2 separate regions of the Homo sapiens genome follow, and region 1 is linked to region 2. Evidence: promoter capture Hi-C in 16 types of primary human blood cells and fetal thymus (Javierre and others, 2016). All regions are on one chromosome and are shown on one strand. Each heading gives the region's core, a stretch centred on a gene start or on the middle of the fragment in contact. The rest is flanking DNA. Distances are from core to core; before and after follow the strand shown. Region 1 has its middle 43 kb from the start of CXCL6. Region 2 holds the start of CXCL8 (C-X-C motif chemokine ligand 8).

Evidence for each region. The method cuts DNA at HindIII sites, captures the fragments that hold promoters and counts their contacts. A CHiCAGO score of 5 or more calls a contact.
Region 1: a fragment that was not itself captured here is called in contact with the fragment with the promoter of CXCL8 in region 2 in 1 of 17 cell types (neutrophils); the score reaches 7.9 in neutrophils.

What each region holds. Positions count from the first base shown.
Region 1 is chr4:73,789,490-73,796,877 of GRCh38, forward strand. No RefSeq gene overlaps it. Among named protein-coding and RNA genes, the nearest start is that of CXCL6, 43 kb to the right of the region's middle. The HindIII fragment of the contact is 846 bases long and covers 2,772-3,617 here.
Region 2 is chr4:73,735,293-73,742,082 of GRCh38, forward strand. CXCL8 (C-X-C motif chemokine ligand 8) reads left to right here and starts at 5,277. Exons shown (of 4, transcript NM_000584.4): 1 at 5,277-5,430; 2 at 6,250-6,385; 3 at 6,657-6,740. The coding sequence starts at 5,367. RefSeq lists a silencer at 3,740-4,034. The HindIII fragment of the contact is 2,023 bases long and covers 3,283-5,305 here.

The sequences.
Region 1 (7,388 bases), core at 1,945-4,444, 52 kb after region 2:
GTATCACCTGTCACCTGACATCTGGGAGTTCCTTCTGAAGCACTTCAGCTTCATATAGTTAAAAGCAGAGACACAGTTTCCCAGTCTGTAGCTCGCAAAGTTATCTCTCACTCAGTTTGGGAAATGAGTGGAGACAATGGGTACCAACAGAGATTGTAGCTTTATATGGGCCCACCCCAGACAGCAATTAACCTCCACATAGCCACACATACAGCAACAACATAGTCATGTTAAAAACTTCCAACAATAGGTAGCCAAATCATAGAACTGTCATTTATGAAGCTCCTATTATGTGCCAAGCAGTATACTAGGTTCTTTACATGCTAAATTTTATTTAAGGCAAAAACTACATGATATTTAAAGTAATATTCTTTAAATACCTATGAATGGATTTCACTTCTTTTTTAGAACTCAAAGTTTAAAATTTTTCTTATTGTGGTAAAATATGTATAAAATAAAATTTACCAATCTAACAATTTTCACATATATAGTTCAGCACCATTAAGTACATTCACATTGTTGTATTATTATAACCATCACCGTCACTCACACTCAGAACATTTTTATCTTTCCAAAGTAAAACTTTGCGCCCATTAAACAATAACTCTCCATTCTTCCAGCCTTTGGCAACAACCATTTTACCTTTTGTTTCTAAAATTTTGACTAATTTAGGTACCTAATATGAGGGGGATCATACAATATTTATCTTTTTATGACTGACTTATTTCATTTGGCATAAGGTCCTCAAGGTTTATCCATGTTGTAGCATACATGTGAATTTCCTTGCATTTTATGGTTAAATAATATTTCATTGTATGTATATATTACATTTTGTTTATTTATTCATCTATTCATGGACATTTGTGTTGCTTCCACCTTTTGACTATTATGAATGATGCTGCTATGAACGTGGTTGTGCAGAAGTCAAAGTTTTAATAGTTCAGGAACTGTATTTATTTGAATGCTTGTTTATAGGAGACATAAGACCCAGTGTTTCTTAGACCAGTAGAATGATCATGATTAACATTAATTGATTGTACATTTCAAAATAGCTAGAAGAGAATAATTCAAATATTCCTATTGCAAAGAAAAATAAATGTTTAAAGTGATGGATATTCTAATTACTGAGTTGATTAAATGAATATATCAAATTATCACATGTACAGCAAAAATATGTACAGCTATTATGTATCAATACAATTAATTGATTGATTTTAAAAAATCTGGCAATAAACTTCTTTCACAGATTTTTAGTGATTCCTGCATTTCTTTAAACAGTTAAGTATAAAATTAGTGGTCTCCTTTATAGCTGACACTTAAACCACTTCAATACTTAGAAACAGATAATAGCATTCTTAGGGAAAGCAAAAAGGGAATATCTGTAAATACTTAAATTGAACTTGACATATAATTTATTTTTAATCAAAATATGTTAAAATGTTATTAATGTCATGAAAACACATTATTTAAAAAACTGAGACTAAAGAAGATCTTATAATAAAAGCGTATCACTTCTTTCCACACTCAGTCCCTCAATAACAAGTATTTTTAAATGTTTTAGCTATTTTGTTCTGGTAGAGAATGCCATGTCTCTAAATATTGTGTTTGAACCAAGTTTTTAAAAAATTACTTATACATATGAAATTAACCCCTGCGGAATTTCTCTATAATGACTGATAATCCAGTCCCCTTATACTTGTCTACCACTTCTGTTCTATAATCATAATTAAGTCATCTGGACTTGTTGATATGAAATATTTGTAAATAATTAACCGCATTTACCTAACCTATGAAAATACTGTTTACTGAAGACAGAAGTATTATATGATCATAATATTTCTTCTTTTACAGGTTTTGGCTTACTTAGAGTTTTGATTTAATTTTCCAATTAAAACTATTTTATCCTTCTTTTTTTAATTTAACTATTATATTTTCCCAAAGACCAGTGATCCAGGACCCCTCAACTCAGGTTTTTCTCTGTCTATTTTATTCCCTGGTTGAACTTTTTATTTGCTGGAACATGTGTCTTCCCTCATTATAGGCTTATTTACTTGTTTTGTTGACACATATCTTCAGAGAACTTCCTAAGGAAGATTGTAAAGGAGAATTTTCTGAGCTTTCACATATCTGAAAGTGGTTTTTTCTTCTACCCTAACACATGATTGGTAGTTTTTCTGGATATAGAATTCTAGGTTGAAAATTATATTACTTCAGAGCTTCCTCTGCCTTTTAAGTGTTGCTGATGACAAAGATGATCCCAGTCTGATGATTATTCTTCATAGTGATTTGGTTTTTCCAAAAGGAAACTTTTAACTAGACTTTCTAAATTTTCTAATGATGTACTCAGCTGTGTGGGGGTGTGTGTGTGTGATTTTACAGAACACTTGCAGAACTGCTTCAGATTGAAAATTCAACCTTCAAATCAGGAAAATTCTCTATTATTTCTTTGAGAATGTCTTGCTTTCTATTTTTCTCTATTCTTTTTTCTATAACATATTAGTAATTGGTGTCATTTTCCATGTTTATTTTCATTTTTCTTATATTATCCATCTGTTATACTTATTTCTACTTTCTTAGATATTTGTTTTATGTTTCAAACTTTGTATAAAATTCACTACTTCACTTACCATATTTAAAATTCCTAAGAACTTATTTTTGTCCCCTAATTGATCCTTCCTCACAGCATTCCTTTTTTTATTATAAAATATCTTCCTTAATCTCTTTAAGAATACTAGGTTTTTAAAGTTCTCTTCCTTTTGAAATATGTTATAAGCTTAATTTTAAAACAGTTTTAGGTTTACAGAAAATTGTGAAGATGGTACAGGGTATTTTCATATACCTACCTCTGATTTTCCCCTATTAAAAGAATATTTTACATTGGCAGGGTGTATTTTGTCACAATTAATAGGACAATATTGATAACTATGACTAACTGAAGTCCCTAAATCAATGTACTGGTCATGCATTTTGTAGCATGTATCTCAATTAAGATTTATCTGAGAAATTGCTTTATGAATCTGAGTGCTCCTGTATTGGGTGCATATACATTTAGGATAGTTAGCTTTTCTTGTTGCATTGATCCCTTTACCATTATGTAATGCCCTTCTTTGTCTTTTTTGATCTTTGTTGGTTTAAAGTCTGTTTTATCAGAGACTGGGATTGCAACCCCTGCTTTTTTTTTTTTTTTTTTTTTTGCTTTCCATTTGCTTGGTAAATATTCCTCCATCCCTTTATTTTAAGCCTGTGTGTGTCTTTGCACATGAGATGGGTCTCCTGAACACAGCACACCAATGGGTCTTGATTCTTTAACCAATTTGCCAGTCTGTGTCTCTTAATTGGGGCATTTAACCCATTTAAATTTAAGGTGAATATTGTTATGTATGAATTTGATCCTCTCCTTATGATGCTAGCTGATTATTTTGCCCCTTAGTTGATGCAGTTTCTTCATAATGTTGAATGTCTTTACAATTTGGTATGTTTTTGCAGTGGCTGGTACCGGTTTTCCCTTTCCATATTTAGTGCTTCTTTTAGGAGCTCTTCTAAGGCAGGCTTGGTGGTGATGAAATCTCTCAGCATTTGCTTGTCTGTAAAGGATTTTATTTCTCCTTCACTTATGAAGCTTAGTTTGGCTGGATATGAAATTCTGGGTTGAAAATAATTTTCTTTAAGAATGTTGAGATCTACAAAAAGACTTAGACTTCCACACCATAATAGTGGGAGATTTTAATACCCCATTGTCAGTATTAGACAGACCAGCAAGACAGAAAGTTAACAAGGATATTCAGGACTTGAACTCAGCTCTGGACCAAGCAGACCTAATAGACATCTACAGAACTCTCCACCCCAAATCAACAGAATATACATTCTTCTCAGTGCCACATCGCACTGATTCTAAAATTGACCACATGATTGGAAGCAAAACACTCCTCAGCAAATGCAAAAAAATGAAAATCATAACAAACAACAGTCTCTCAGACCACAGTGCAATCAAATTAGAACTCAGGATTAAGAAACTCACTCAACTACATGGAAACTAAACAACCTGCTCCTGAGTGACTATTGGGTAAATAACGAAATTAAGGCAGAAATAAAGAAGTTATTTGAAACCAATTAGAACAAAGACACAATGTACCAGACTCTCTGGGATACAGCTAAAGTAGTGTTAAGATGGAAATTTATAGCACTAAATGCCCACAAGAGAAAGCAGAAAAGATCTAAAATTGACACCCTAATATCACAAAAGAACTAATGAAGCAAGAGCAAACAAATTCAAAAGCTAGCAGAAGACAAGAAATAACTAAGATCAGAGCAGAACTGAAGGAGATAGAGACACAAAAAACCCTTCAAAAAATCAACGAATCCAAGAGCTGGTTTTTTGAAAAGATTAAAAAAATAGATAGATTGCTATCCAGACTAATAAAGAAGAAAATAGAGAAGAATCAAACAGACAATAAAAAATGATAAAGGGGATATCACCACTGATTCCACAGAAATACAAACTACCATCAGAGCTTACTATAAACACCTCTATGCAAATAGACTAGAAAATCTAGAAGAAATGGATAAATTCCTGGACAATTACACCCTCCGAAGACTAAACCAGGAAGAAGTCAAATCCCTGAATAGACCAATAACAAGTTCTGAAATTGAGGCAGTAATTAATAGCCTACCAACCAAAAAAAGCCCAGAACCAGAAAGATTCACAGCTGAATTCTTCCAAAAGTACAAAGAGGAGCTGGTACCATTCCTTCTGAAACATCCAAACAATAGAAATTGAAGGACTCCTCCCTAACTCATCTTATGAGGCCAGGATCATCCCGATACCAAAACTTGGCAGCGACACAATGACAACAAGAAAAGAAAATTTCAGGCCAACATTCTTGATGAACATTGATGCAAAAATCCTCAATAAAATCCTGGCAAAGTGAATCCAGCAGCACATTAAAAAACTTATCCACCATGATCAAGTCAGCTTCATTCCTGGGATGCAAGGCTGGTTCAACATACTCAAATCAATAAACATAATCCATCACATAAACAGAACCAATGACAAAAACCACATGATTATCTCAATAGATGCAGAAAAGGCCTTAGATAAAATTCTACACCACTACATGCTAAAATCTCTCAATAAACTAGGTATTGATGGAACATATCTCAAAATAATACGAGCTATAGATGACAAACCCACAGCTAATATAATTCTTAATGGGCAAAACCTGTAAGCATTCCCTTTGAAAACCACACAAGACAAGGATGCCCTCTCTTACCATTCCTATTCAACATAGTATTGGAAGTTCTGGCCAGGGCAATCAGGCAAGAGAAAGAAATAAATGGTATTCAAATAGGAAGAGAGGAAGTCAAATTGTCTCTGTTTGCAGATGACATGCTTGTACATTTAGAAAACCCCATCGTCTCTGCCCAAAATCTCCTTAATCTGATAAGCAACTTCAGCAAAGTATCAGGATACAAAATCAATGTGCAAAAATCACAGGCATTCCTACACACCAATAATAGAGAACAAAATCATGAGTGAAGGCCCATTCACAATTGCTAAAAAGAGAATAAAATATCTAAGTATACAACTTACAAGGGTTGTAAAAGACCTCTTCAAAAAGAATTACAAACCACTGCTCAAGGAAATAAGAGAGAAGACAAAAAAATGGAAAAACATTCCATGCTCATGGATGGGAAGAATCAATCTCATGAAAATGGCCATATTGCCCAAAGTAATTTATAGATTCAGTGCTATCCCCATCAAGCTGCCATTGACTTTCTGTACAGAATTAGAAAAAAAAAACTACTTTAAATTTCATATGGAACCAAAAATGCACCGGTATAGCCATGACAATCCTAAGCAAAAAGAACAAAGCTGGAGGCGTCACATTACCTGACTTCAAACTATATTACAAGGCTACAGTAACCAAAACAGCATGGTACTGGTACCAAAACATATATATAGACCAATAGAACAGAACAGAGGCCTCAGAAATAATGCCACACATCTACAACCATCTGATCTTTGACAAACCTGACAAAAACAAGAAATGGGGAAAGGATTCCCTATTTAATAAATGGTGTTGGGACAACAGGCTAGCCATAGGCAGAAAACTGAAACTGGACCCCTTCCTTACACCTTATACAAAAATTAATTCAAGATGGATTAAAGACTTAAATGCAAGACCTAAAACTATAAAAACCCTTGAAGAAAACCTAGGCAATACCATTCAGGACATAGGCGTGGGCAAAAACTTCATGACTAAAACAACAAAAGCAATGGCAACAAAAGCCAAAATTGACAAATGGGATCTAATTAAACTAAAGAGCTTCTGCACAGCAAAAAAAACTATCATCAGAGTGAATGGGCAACCTACAGTATGGGAGAAAAATTTTGCAATTTATCTATCTGATAAAGGGCTAATATCTAGAAGCTACAAAAACTTAAACAAACTTACAAGAAAAAAACAAACAGCCCATCAAAAAGTGAGTGAAGGATATGAACAGACACGTCTCAAAAGAAGACATTTATGCAGCCAACAAACATATGAAAAAAAAAGCTCATTATCAGTGGTCATTAGAGAAATACAAATTAAAACCACAATGAGATACCAACTCATGCCAGTTAGAATGGTGATTATTAAAAAGTCAGGAAACAACGAGTGCTGGATAGGATGTGGAGAAATAGGATTGCTTTTACAATGTTGGTGGAAGTGTAAATTAGTTCAACCATTGCAGAAGACAGTGTGGTGATTCCTCAAGGTCTAGAACCAGAAATACCATTTGACCCAGCAATTCCATTGCTGGGTATATAACCAAAGAATTATAAATCGTTCTACTATAAATACACACGCACCCATATGTTTATTGAAACACTATTCACAATAGCAAAGACTTGGAACCAACAAAAATGCCCATCAATTATAGACTGGATAGAGAAAATGTGGCACATATACACCATGGAATACTATTTAGCCATATAAAGGATGAGTTCATGTCCTTTGCAGGGACATAGACGAAGCTGGAAACCATAATTGTCAGCAAACTAACACAGGAACAGAATACCAAACACCGCATGCTCTCACTCATAAGGGGGAGTTGAACAACGAGAACAAATGGACACAGGGAGGAGAACATCACACACGAGGGCCTGCGAGGGGTTGGGGAGCTAGGGGAGGGCTAGCATTAGGAAAAATACCTAATGTGTATGACGGGTTGATGGGTGCAGCAAACCACCATGGCACGTATATACTTGTGTAACAAACCTGCACGTTCTGCACATGTATCTGAGAACTTAAAGTATAATTCAAAAAACTTGCATAACTTTTTTTTTTTTTTTTTTTTTTTTTGAGACGGAGTCTTGCTCTGTCGCCCAGGCTGGAGTGCAGTGG
Region 2 (6,790 bases), core at 4,027-6,526:
AATCAGCATGAAAACTTTTCTTTTTTTCCCTTAGTCATTTGACTTATTGCTTGGTGTGAGTCTTGTTTACCACAAGACACAATTAAATGCACGCATCAGTTCAGTCATTTCTAACATAGCAACTTCCCTTTTTGCCAAGTGATCTCATTTCCTATTTTTTTGGAAAGAAATACTAGTAACATGTAACGTGATCACTGCCATGTCAAAGATACATTTTTTTTGTAAACATTGGAGTAAATAATGCCTAAGTGTTTTAGAATAAATCTAATAAAGAAATTAGGTCTACACATAATTTTGTTTTACTTTTTTTTTTTTTTCTTGCGACAGGCTCTCTGTCACCCAGGCTGGAGTACAGTGGCATGATAACAGCTCCCTGCAGCCTCGACCTCCCTGGCTCAAGTGATCTTCCCACCTCAGCCTCCTGAGTAGCTGGGACTACAGGCATGCACCACCACGCCCGGCTAATATTTGTATATTTTTGTAGAGACAGAGTTTCATCATGTTGCCCAGGCTAGTCTTGAACTCCTGGGCTCAAGTGCTCCACCTGAATTGGCCTTCCAAATTACAGGCATAGCCACCACAGTGAGCCCTTTTTTTTTTTTAATAAATTTAACAAAGAAAAGAAATAGCTACAAGTAAATATTTACTTTTTTTTTTCATATTGAAGATTGGCTGATCTTAGCCTTTCTAAGTCCTTAATAAATGCCTGTTTACACAACTGGTGTCTTCCCCTAAACCTAAACTTCAAACTTCAAACTCCAAACTCCACCGATTTGGATAGTATTAGAAATGGCATTCATATTAATGGTTATAGTACATTTTTTTACATGTGAATGCAAATGGAATTGTTAGGCATTAAAAAAGAAAGCTTATATAGTGGAAGAAAATAAAGCATCTAGACATAAGCTTTAAGAGATCTATTGTGTTAATACAGCTTTACTTTTTGAGTGGTAAGCTTTTAAAAAGAAATGTGGTGCTCTAACTCCAGGAAAAGATAAGGGTGACTGAAGTGATAGTCTAGAGGAAAAAGATGCAGACATTTACTGAGTACCTCCAATGTGCCAGGTGCCATTCTGGGCATTTTCATTATGTTTCCTCATTTAATTCTCATGGTGATCCTTTGGAACTGTGTTATTCTCATTTTTACAGATGAGGTAACTGAGAGACAGTCAGATTAAAGAACTGCCTATGATTGTTTGGCTAATAATAAGTGGAGGGGTGAGGCTTGAAGGCAGGTTTGTCTTATTCCAACACCCATACATACCCTTAAATTTAAGTTATTCTGACTTGTGTTGCTCAAATCCAATGTGTTCAGCTGTTTGCTTCTCCAATTACCAAGATTTTTCTTTAAAAGGTAGGACACTTTTGGCAACACGAACCAACTTTGCTCAGTATTGTTATAAACTGTTAACTGGAGACATTTGAATTTGGAGATGGAACTGAAATGGTCTTGCGGTACTAGAGAAGATCAAGTTATCACATAAACAAAGTACAGAGCTGAGAACATATTTTAAATCTTTCCACTAACTCTGACTTTTATTGACTAAAATTTTAGTGGGCAGTATGTTTATGTTTATGACTCTTAACATTAACAACATCGTAAGTCAAACTCACTAATATATGTTAAGCATTCTGTTTATGATTCTTTTAACCTAGAGGATTGTTGAGCTGGGACTAATTTCCTCAAATGGGAAAAAAACCCAGGTGAGAGCTGAGACTGCTCCTGAGACTGAGAAAGGCAGCTCTGACGGGATCTCAGATTTTAGCAGCAGGAGTTGAACAATGGGCATAGAATCAGCTTGCCCAAGATCTCCTGATTAATAAACCATGGAACAAGATTTAAACCCAAGTTCATTTCATTTCAAAGCTCATACCACATTTTGCCCACCATATTTTGCTTTGTTATATGACTACAACTTAGTTCAGGCTTACAAAAAAGTCCTAATTCTAAAATTCCTATGGCGTGGGTGGGAGGGGATTTAGATGATTTTGCATAGGCAAGAAACACCCAGTTTCATGGAGTTTGATGGAAGAGTTATGTACTAATATGGGAAAAGTAGAGGCCATCTTTGTCTTTGTTCTTTCTTTTTTAGACGGGAGTCTCGCTCTTTCACCCAGGCTGGAGTGCAGTGGCGCTATCTCGGCTCACTGCAAGCTCCGCCTCCTGGGTTCACGCCATTCTCCTGCCTCAGCCTCCTGAGTAGCTGGGACTACAGGCGCCCGCCACCGCTCCCGGCTAATTTTTTATATTTTCAGTAGAGACGGGGTTTCACCGTGTTAGCTAAGATGGTTTGGATCTCCTGAACTCGTGATCCGCCCGCCTCGGACTCCCAAAGTGCTGGGATTACAGGCTTGAGCCACCGCGCCCGGCCGTCTTTGTTCTTTCTTGAACTCTTCCTTTTCTTGGGTGATAGACTTCGTCAACGTCTAATGAGGATATCTAGGTGCTAGTCTCTGCTCATCAAATGATTCTTATGGCTCAGGAGCCGAATGGGACGTAAATAAACAGTTAAGTCTCATGAACTCACTTTGCATTCATCTCTAGAAGATGACAAAACATTTGTATTTATGTGTAGCGTGGCACTTTAGTTAAACTTTGTACCCCACTTTGCTCTATTTTAAAGCAGAATATCCTTAAAAAGGATACTTAGTCCTGCTTTTTTTTTTCCGCCTAAGCCCATTTAGTCCTTCTACTCATTATGCAAGGACTCAAATGGTTATCTTTACAGAAGTGAGACAAGATAGAATCAATGCTCTTGTAGTCACTTCATCTTTGTCCATTCCCACTTCTGATGGAGAGGGTTCTAGGACATAATGCACTGAAGGTTACATTGTGAGAGATGAACAACATTTGCAAAAGAGGTCTTTTTGCCTTGGAAAGGCTTCATTCTTAAAAAAAAATGTGAGCATCAAGGTTAAGTAGACCTCATTAGCTCAAACTTTAAGGATGATATCAGGATAAAGTTGGGCCCATGAGAAGAGAATGAGAGGGAGATATAGTGACATGAAAATAAGGAGGAAAACGAGGTGTCTATGTAAGTTGGGCTCACCATAAATACAAAGGCAACCGTTAGGGAAAAGCAAAGAAGTCTTTGCACATCCTCAGAACTCTGAATGTCTTAGTGATGCTGTATGAGTGAGTCTTAATGATAGTGAACTGAATCAGTCAAGCCAGGTTGTGTCCATATGAGAATGTGTCTTTGCTAAACATGCCAACATCACTGAAGCAAAGAAACTTGGAGTTTTCTTTAAGATATAGGTCTTTTTTACCTATCCGGCCCAAGCTTTCTCTTCTTGTCACTCCATGCACTGTGTTCCGTATGCTAAATAGTTTGAGAAACCCAAATGGGCCATGTTCGCCTACATTTCATTGTCCTGTACTTCCTGTCCTGTACTAGCAAAGCAGTCCCATTGGTCTTTCTTCTCCTCATTAACAATAAAGGTAACACTTTTGATGTTGTTTCTTCAGAAAACCTTCATTCATCAAAACTGCCTCAAAGATCATGTTTGTTTGATTCCAGAACTTCCTGTAATTACCTGTTATTGTAACACTCATCACTGTATTTTACTTACTTGTGTAACTAATTTTCCATATTCTGCACTAGACAACAAAGTCCTTTAAGTCAGGTACTATATCTATTTACATAGCATTCACATCTCCTACAATAAGGGACATTAGCAGATAAACAACACATATTAAATGAATAATGAAGTTTCTGAAATACTACAGTTGAAAACTATAGGAGCTACATTATATAGAATAAACATTTACTTTGCTATAGAATTCAGTGTAACCCAGGCATTATTTTATCCTCAAGTCTTAGGTTGGTTGGAGAAAGATAACAAAAAGAAACATGATTGTGCAGAAACAGACAAACCTTTTTGGAAAGCATTTGAAAATGGCATTCCCCCTCCACAGTGTGTTCACAGTGTGGGCAAATTCACTGCTCTGTCGTACTTTCTGAAAATGAAGAACTGTTACACCAAGGTGAATTATTTATAAATTATGTACTTGCCCAGAAGCGAACAGACTTTTACTATCATAAGAACCCTTCCTTGGTGCTCTTTATCTACAGAATCCAAGACCTTTCAAGAAAGGTCTTGGATTCTTTTCTTCAGGACACTAGGACATAAAGCCACCTTTTTATGATTTGTTGAAATTTCTCACTCCATCCCTTTTGCTAGTGATCATGGGTCCTCAGAGGTCAGACTTGGTGTCCTTGGATAAAGAGCATGAAGCAACAGTGGCTGAACCAGAGTTGGAACCCAGATGCTCTTTCCACTAAGCATACAACTTTCCATTAGATAACACCTCCCTCCCACCCCAACCAAGCAGCTCCAGTGCACCACTTTCTGGAGCATAAACATACCTTAACTTTACAACTTGAGTGGCCTTGAATACTGTTCCTATCTGGAATGTGCTGTTCTCTTTCATCTTCCTCTATTGAAGCCCTCCTATTCCTCAATGCCTTGCTCCAACTGCCTTTGGAAGATTCTGCTCTTATGCCTCCACTGGAATTAATGTCTTAGTACCACTTGTCTATTCTGCTATATAGTCAGTCCTTACATTGCTTTCTTCTTCTGATAGACCAAACTCTTTAAGGACAAGTACCTAGTCTTATCTATTTCTAGATCCCCCACATTACTCAGAAAGTTACTCCATAAATGTTTGTGGAACTGATTTCTATGTGAAGCACATGTGCCCCTTCACTCTGTTAACATGCATTAGAAAACTAAATCTTTTGAAAAGTTGTAGTATGCCCCCTAAGAGCAGTAACAGTTCCTAGAAACTCTCTAAAATGCTTAGAAAAAGATTTATTTTAAATTACCTCCCCAATAAAATGATTGGCTGGCTTATCTTCACCATCATGATAGCATCTGTAATTAACTGAAAAAAAATAATTATGCCATTAAAAGAAAATCATCCATGATCTTGTTCTAACACCTGCCACTCTAGTACTATATCTGTCACATGGTACTATGATAAAGTTATCTAGAAATAAAAAAGCATACAATTGATAATTCACCAAATTGTGGAGCTTCAGTATTTTAAATGTATATTAAAATTAAATTATTTTAAAGATCAAAGAAAACTTTCGTCATACTCCGTATTTGATAAGGAACAAATAGGAAGTGTGATGACTCAGGTTTGCCCTGAGGGGATGGGCCATCAGTTGCAAATCGTGGAATTTCCTCTGACATAATGAAAAGATGAGGGTGCATAAGTTCTCTAGTAGGGTGATGATATAAAAAGCCACCGGAGCACTCCATAAGGCACAAACTTTCAGAGACAGCAGAGCACACAAGCTTCTAGGACAAGAGCCAGGAAGAAACCACCGGAAGGAACCATCTCACTGTGTGTAAACATGACTTCCAAGCTGGCCGTGGCTCTCTTGGCAGCCTTCCTGATTTCTGCAGCTCTGTGTGAAGGTAAGCACATCTTTCTGACCTACAGCGTTTTCCTATGTCTAAATGTGATCCTTAGATAGCAAAGCTATTCTTGATGCTTTGGTAACAAACATCCTTTTTATTCAGAAACAGAATATAATCTTAGCAGTCAATTAATGTTAAATTGAAGATTTAGAAAAAACTATATATAACACTTAGGAAAGTATAAAGTTTGATCAATATAGATATTCTGCTTTTATAATTTATACCATGTAGCATGCATATATTTAACGTAAATAAGTAATTTATAGTATGTCCTATTGAGAACCACGGTTACCTATATTATGTATTAATATTGAGTTGAGCAAGGTAACTCAGACAATTCCACTCCTTGTAGTATTTCATTGACAAGCCTCAGATTTGTCATTAATTCCTGTCTGGTTTAAAGATACCCTGATTATAGACCAGGCATGTATAACTTATTTATATATTTCTGTTAATTCTTTCTGAAGGCAATTTCTATGCTGGAGAGTCTTAGCTTGCCTACTATAAATAACACTGTGGTATCACAGAGGATTATGCAATATTGACCAGATAAAAATACCATGAAGATGTTGATATTGTACAAAAAGAACTCTAACTCTTTATATAGGAAGTCGTTCAATGTTGTCAGTTATGACTGTTTTTTAAAACAAAGAACTAACTGAGGTCAAGGGCTAGGAGAATATTCAGGAATGAGTTCACTAGAAACATGATGCCTTCCATAGTCTCCAAATAATCATATTGGAATTAGAAAGGAAGTAGCTGGCAGAGCTGTGCCTGTTGATAAAATCAATCCTTAATCACTTTTTCCCCCAACAGGTGCAGTTTTGCCAAGGAGTGCTAAAGAACTTAGATGTCAGTGCATAAAGACATACTCCAAACCTTTCCACCCCAAATTTATCAAAGAACTGAGAGTGATTGAGAGTGGACCACACTGCGCCAACACAGAAATTATGTAAGTACTTTAAAAAAGATTAGATATTTTGTTTTAGCAAACTTAAAATTAAGGAAGGTGGAAATATTTAGGAAAGTTCCAGGTGTTAGGATTACAGTAGTAAATGAAACAAAACAAAATAAAAATATTTGTCTACATGACATTTAAATATGGTAGCTTCCACAACTACTATAAATGTTATTTTGGACTTAGACTTTATGCCTGACTTAAGGAATCATGATTTGAATGCAAAAACTAAATATTAATCTGAACCATTTCTTTCTTATTTCAGTGTAAAGCTTTCTGATGGAAGAGAGCTCTGTCTGGACCCCAAGGAAAACTGGGTGCAGAGGGTTGTGGAGAAGTTTTTGAAGAGGTAAGTTATATATTTTTTAATTTAAATTTTTCATTTATCCTGAGACATAT